Regions from separate parts of the Homo sapiens genome. Here region 1 is linked to region 2. Evidence: promoter capture Hi-C in human tissues and cell types (Jung and others, 2019). All regions are on one chromosome and are shown on one strand. The core of a region is centred on a gene start or on the middle of the fragment in contact, and the rest is flanking DNA. Distances in the headings are between cores, read along the strand shown. Region 1 has its middle 6.0 kb from the start of TEKTL1. Region 2 holds the start of OR7C2 (olfactory receptor family 7 subfamily C member 2).

Region 1 (3,459 bases), core at 601-3,100, 63 kb before region 2:
GCCGTTATGTTCTTTAGGGCCACTAGCAAGAAATGGGGCCAGATAACCTTTGGCGATGGAGGCTTGGGAATATGGGGTTAGCACAGTCATTTGCTGCTGGGACCAGTGGTATCTGGTTCAACAAATTTTCATGAGCATCAGGAGGATATTATGGTCTGTATTCTGGATCCAGATGAACTAGGATTCAAATTATGATTCTGCCACTTGCTGTCTACGTGATCTCGAGCAATTCACTTAACATCTCTGTGCCTGCGTTGCCCCATCTGTCAACTCAGGTAATAGGATTGTGGCATGGAGACAATGAGTTAATATGAATGAAGTGCTTAGCACCATGGCTGACACCTAGTAAGCATTATGTAAGTGTTTACTTTTGACTTTTATTAATAGAATGAATCCATGAATGAGCTATTTCAAAACCAGAAGAGGTCCAGAGAGGGTTTCACAAAGAACCAGGGAGACACCTCATGTGAGATGACCTGCACACAACCATCTACCTTTGCTTTGTTCATGAAGTACGTCCACCTTCCCAACCAGGGGATCTCATTTGGGTAGGCTTGCTGCCTGGTGTATGAAGCACCTCTGTTGGGCAGAACTTGTACCAAGCTACCTGAGAGACGCTTAGGAAGCTTCCTCATGCCAGATCTGCATGTGAGGATTTTGGCTTCCACATGGCTCTCTGGTGAAATGCATTAGGGCTATGCAGGCTGTTACATTCTGGCTTTTTATTAGTTTAACACGCTGACACCAACACGCTGCTAGTATATGATACTATTATCTAAGCATTGAAATTGGTGCAGACCATTGCTTAATCAGACCAACTTCTCATTTCCATCTCCCAATCCCAGTTTCCATTCTCTATATCAACTTCCAAAAACTCACTGCTAGCTCCTGGCTTTGATGACCCATTTTGGACACTTCTCTAGCCTGATATGTATTTGAAGAACAGGTGAGTTATCTGGTTTTTTTGTTTTTTTGTTTTTGTGAGAAGGAGTTTCACTCTTGTTGCCCAGGCTGGAGTGCAGTGGCGCGATCTCGGTTCACTGCAACCTACGCCTCCCAGGTTCAAGTGATTCTCCTGCCTCAGCCTTCTGAGTAGCTGGGATTACAGATGCCCACCACCACGCCCAGCTAATTTTTTGTATTTTTAGTAGAACAATTTGTTCACCATTGTTGGCCAGGCTATTCGTGAACTCCTGACCGCCACCGTGCCCTGCTTTTTTTTTTTTTTTTTTGAGACAGGGTCTTGCTTTGTCACCCAGAGTAGAGTACAGTGGTACCATCATGGCTCACTGCAACTTTGAACTCCTGGGCTTAAACAATCCTCCTGCCTCAGCCTCCTGGGTAGCTGGCCCTATGGGCATGTGCTACCATGCCTGGCTAATTTAAAAATGTTTTTGTAGAGACACGATCTTGCTATGTTGCCCAGGCTAGTCTCAAACTCCTGGACTCAAACAATCCTCCCGCCTTGGCCTACCAAAGCTCTGGGGTTTCAGATGTGAGCAACTGTGCCTGGCCTGTCTGGAAGGAACCATTCATTGCTGGGCTGGGATTAGCTCTCATTTTCCAAGTGATTCACCTGCGTGTGTCTGAACAGAAACAGTGATGTTCAAAAAATCTACAGAAACATTATGTACACAAGACCGAGGACTAGGAAAATTTTTCAGTACTCTCCAAGCCTAAATACCTCTCTTAAACTAACAAATAAGCTATGAAAGCAAGGTATGCACCTTGTATAAAATGTATAAAATATGGGAAACATAATGAAATGAATAAGAATCTTTTTTTTTTTTCTGGAGACAGAGTCTCACTCTGTCACCCAGGCTGAAATGAAGTGGCACAATCTTGGCTCACTAAAGCCTCCAACTCCTGGTCTCAAGAGATCTCTTGCTTCAGCCTCCTGAATAGCTGGAACTACAGGTGCATGCCATCACAATTGACTTTTTTTTTTTTTTGTAGAGGTGAGGTCTTGCTATGTTGCCCAGTCTGGGTCTTGAACTCCTGGCTTCAAGCCATCCTCCTGCCTCACCCTCTCAAAGTGCTGGGATTATGGCCACAAGCCACCATGGCCAGCCTTATTTTTTGTTTTACTATCCAGAGATACTTATTCTGAACTTGATCTTGATTTCACTCTAACCATTTCCACATTCATTCCCCCACCATGCCTCTGTGTGTGTGTGTGTATGTGTGCATGCATATACACAACTATACATATTTCCCTTCTCCCAATATACTGAAGCCCAAATACTTCTAACTCAGGCCAATAGGGAGTTATATTTCTTTGTGAAATTAGCTCTCTGATTTTTATTTATTTTATTTATGCATTATTAATTTTTTTAGAGACAGAGTCTTGCTCTGTTGCTCACGCTGGAGTGCAGTGGTGTGATCTTGGCTCACTGCAACCTCCTCCTCCTGGGTTCAAGCAATTCTCCTGCCTCAGCCTGCTGAGTAGCTGGGACTACAGGGGCCCACCACCACGCCCAGCTAATTTTTTGTATTTTAATAGAGATGGGGTTTCTCCATGTTGCCCAGGTTGGTCTCGAGCTCCTGAGCTCAGGCAATCCACCCGGCTTGGCCTCCCAAAGTGCTAGGATTACAGGCATGAACCACCACACCTGGCAGCTCTCTTGATTTTTATAATAAAGAACACTTTATAGAAATTCCTTTTTGCAACTTTGCTGGGGCCACCTGTTCTATATACTGATTCATGCAATGTAGGGAGCAGAATTCTGCTTTTGGGCGAAATCGAGTGAAATTGCAGAATGGATGAAGAAGGAGCACCTTCTAAAACTTCTAGCCTTTTTTCTTTTCTTTTCTTTCTTTTTTTTTTTTTTGGCATTACATGGAGATGCCCTTCGCTGTGAAATCTTGGCAGGTAATTATCAGAGACCCCTTTTTAGGTTCCCCGATGTCTTCCCTTCTGGGACACCAGGTTCTACTTTTAGTAGGTGCCCCTCTTTCTCTTGGAGATAATCACATCAATTGGTCTCTCATTCCAGGGGGATATGACCTAGAATCTGTTTTGTCTTTGAGAAATGAGGTCGCTTTTCTGGTGGAGGTGTCAGGAGATGGTGGGAAGCCCCAGGCTGGGAGAGGAGGTGCTTCCTGGTTCTTCCCTGTCATCTCCTGCAAAGGCAGTGACCTTGCTGGTCAGTGAGTGACAAGGACCTGTGTCTATGGCTGTACCCCTGGTCAGTCCCTCAAAATGACTCAGGCAGGCCAGGCACGGTGGCTTATGCCTGTAATCCCAGCACTTTGGGAGGCTGAGGTAGGCAGATCAGTTGAGGCCAGGAGTTCGAGACCAGCCTGGCCAACATGGTGAAACCCCATCTGTACAAAAATGCAAAAATTAGCTGGGCGTGGTGGCACATGCCTGTAATCCCAGCTACTCAAGAGGCTGAGTCATGAGAATCGCTTGAACCCGGGGGGCGGAGGTTGCAGTGAGCTGAGATTGTGCCACTG
Region 2 (3,286 bases), core at 583-3,082:
AAAACAAAACAAAAAACAAAAACAAAAAACAAAATCCAAATCATTACTAAAGATAACAGAGAAAACACCAGGTTGTATTCATACAAAGTTAAGATTACTGGTTAGAAAGTCAAAAAGGGTGATCCTATATAACTTTATTAGCAGTAGCAAGGGCAGGAAACGTTCCAAAGGAAGATGCAAGGGAAGAGATGCTTTAATATGTATAAAAGAAGGCAGGGTGCGGTGGCTCATTGCCTGTAATCCCAGCACTTTGGGAGGCCAAGGCGGGCAGATTACCTGAGGTCAGGAGTTCCAGACCAGCCTGACTAACATGGCAAAACCCCATCTCTACTAAAAATACAAAAACTAGCTGGGCATGGTGGCGGGTGCCTGTAATCCCAGCTACTCAGGAGGCTGAGGCAGGAGAACCACTTGAACCCGGGAGGCGGCAGTTGCAGTGAGCCGAGATCGCACCATTGCACTGCAGCCTGGGTGACAGAGTGAGACTCCTTCTTGAAAAAAAAAAAAAGAAGTGGCTGGGCACGGTGGCTCATGCCTGTAATCCCAGCACTTTGGGAGGCCGAGGCAGGTGGATCATGAGGTCAGGAGTTCGAGACCAGCCTGACTAACATGGTGACACCCCATCTCTACTAAAAATAAAAACAATTGGCCGGGAATTGGGGCGCATGCCTGTAATCCCAGCTGCTAAGGAGGCTGAGGCAGGAGAATTGCTTGAACCTGGGAGGCGGAGGTTGCAGTGAGCCGAGATCACGCCATTGCACTCCAGCCTGGGCGACAGAGCAAGACTCCGTCTCAAAAAAATGCATAAAAACAGAAGTTGAAATATTGGCTGAAAGAGGCCAGTCTGGCCTCAGTATTGTGTTCACTGCAATTCATGAGAGCTTAGCAATGGTCCCCTCTTTGAGAGACGTTGCCCTGAGGAGGAGTCTCCCCAGTGACCCCTTCATGTCCTTGTTCCTCAGGCTGTAGATGAAGGGGTTCAGCATGGGGGTGACCATGGTGTACATCACCGAGGCTGCCAGACTTGTCCTAGAAGGTGGTGTAACTGCAGAACTGAGATAGACCCCAAGGCCAGTGCCATAGAACAAGCTGACCACTGAGAGGTGGGAACCACAGGTGGAAAAGGCTTTGTGCTGGCCTCTGGCAGATACTCTTAGGACGGAGGAGAAAATCTGAGAATAAGAGAATAGGATTCCACAGAGAGGAAAAACACCCAGGACAATGGTCACAAAATACATCACGATGTTATTGATGAAGGTGTCAGAACAGGCCAGCTTCAGGACTTCGGAAGGATCACAAAAAAAGTGCGGAATTTCCATATTTGTGCAGAAGGACAGCCTCAAAATGGTCAAGGTCTCAAGCAAGGAACCCATGACACTGATGCACCAGGACCCCAGAACCAGCAGTCCACAGAGCCGGGGGTTCATGATGACCGTGTAGTGCAGGGGGTAACAGATGGCCACGAAGCGGTCATAGGCCGTCATGGTCAGGAGCAAATTGTCCAGGCATCCAAATGCAATGAAAAAAAATATCTGAGTGAGGCAGCCTGCAAAAGTGATCATTTTGCTTTGTGTTTGGATATTCACCAGCATCTTTGGGACAGTCGTGGATGTGAAACAGATGTCAGCAAAGGACAGGTTGGAGAGGAAGAAGTACATGGGGGTGTGGAGGTGGGAGTCTGAACTGATGGTCAGGATGATGAGCAGGTTTCCGATGATGGTAACCAGGTACATGGAGAGGAACAGCCCATGGAGGAGAAGCTGCATGTCAGAGTCCTCTGCGAATCCCAGGAGGAGAAAGTTTCCAACTTCTGTTTGGTTTCCTCTTTCCATGGGGCCGCTGGGTTTGCCGAGAAGGAGGAAAAAAAACAGCCACACAAAATTTACTCCAAATAAGCATTCCCCAGAATGACTGCAATATCCTTTATTCAAACCCAGGGAACTCAAGAAATCATGCATTTTGGCTAATTATTGGATTTCTTTGCCGACAAGTTACAGTTACCATCGCTACCTGGAGAAGTCATCTCTACATCATTGGTCCTTAAACTGTGGTTCCTGGAACAGCCCCATCAGCATCACCTGGGAACTCATTAGACATGTGCCTTATCATGCCCACCTGACCGACTGAATCTGATACTCTGGGTATGGAGCCAGCATTCTGGTTTAGTTTTTGTTTGAGATGGAGTCTCGCTCTTTCGCCCAGGCTAGAGTGCAGTGGCAGAGTCTTGGCTCACTGCAACCTCTGCCTCCCGGGTTCAAGTGATTCTCCTGCCTCAGCCTCCAGAGTAGCTGGTATTACAGGCATGTACCACCACGCCCAGCTAATTTTTGTAGTTTTAGTAGAGACAGGGTTTCACCATGTTGGTCAGGCTGGTCTCGAACTCCTGACCTCGTGATCCTCCTGCGTTGGCCTCCCAAAGTGCTGGGATTACAGGCATGAGCCACCACGCCTGGCCTTTTAATTTTAATTAATTAATTTTTTTTTTTTGAGACAGAGTCTCACCCTGTTGCCCAGGCTGGAGTGCAGTGGTGCAATCTCAGCTCACTGCAACCTCTGGCTCCCAGGTTCAAGCAATTCTCATGCCTCAGCCTCCTGAGTAGCTGGCACTACAGGCGCGCACCACCACGCTGAGGTAATTTTTTTTTTTTTTTGTATTTTTAGGAGAGACACGGTTTCTCCATGTTGGCCAGACTGGTCTCAAACTCCTGACCTCAGATGATCCGCCCGCCTCAGCCTCCCAAAGTGCTGGTATTACAGGCATGAGCCACCGTGCCTGGCCTGCATTCTGGGTTTTAACAAGCCCTCTAGGGAATTCTGATGCACACTCAAGTTTGAGGACTATTGCTTCAGCGCTTGCCTGTATCCCTAAGCAATCCTTCCCACCGCAGCATCCCTGGTGGCTGCTCTTGCCCTTTCTGCCTAAGGCATGGGGATTAGGAAATCAGGCAATGAGAATTCCCTAATTCTAGGCAGATTGTCAATCCTCAGAAGGCTTTTTCTTCTATTGTGCTGCATTCCTGTAATTTATTTTTCATTTTGTTTTAGAGACAAGGTCTGGCTCTGTTGCCCAGGCTGGAGTGCAGTGGCGCCATCCTAGCTCACTGCAGTCTCGAACTTCTGGGCTCAAGTGATCCTCCTGCCTCAGCCTCCCAAGTAGCTGGGATTACAGGTGCAAGCCACTGTGCCCAGTTGTAATGTCTACATGTTAAATCCTCTGGATCTTGGATGCCCCTTCTGCTAAAAAATAATAACCACTGTTTTTAATCATCATTGTTTACATTTCATT

What was found. Contacts are between HindIII fragments. The study calls those that stand out against the background at their distance.
Region 1: a fragment that was not itself captured here is called in contact with the fragment with the promoter of OR7C2 in region 2 in 1 of the 25 tissues and cell types used here (stomach).

What each region holds. Positions count from the first base shown.
Region 1 is chr19:15,003,033-15,006,491 of GRCh38, reverse strand. It overlaps a transcript of SLC1A6 not described here. Among named protein-coding and RNA genes, the nearest start is that of TEKTL1, 6.0 kb to the left of the region's middle. The HindIII fragment of the contact is 9,530 bases long and covers 1-3,459 here.
Region 2 is chr19:14,940,035-14,943,320 of GRCh38, reverse strand. OR7C2 (olfactory receptor family 7 subfamily C member 2) reads right to left here and starts at 1,832. Exons shown (of 1, transcript NM_012377.1): 1 at 873-1,832. The coding sequence starts at 1,832. The coding sequence ends at 873. The HindIII fragment of the contact is 18,036 bases long and covers 1-3,286 here.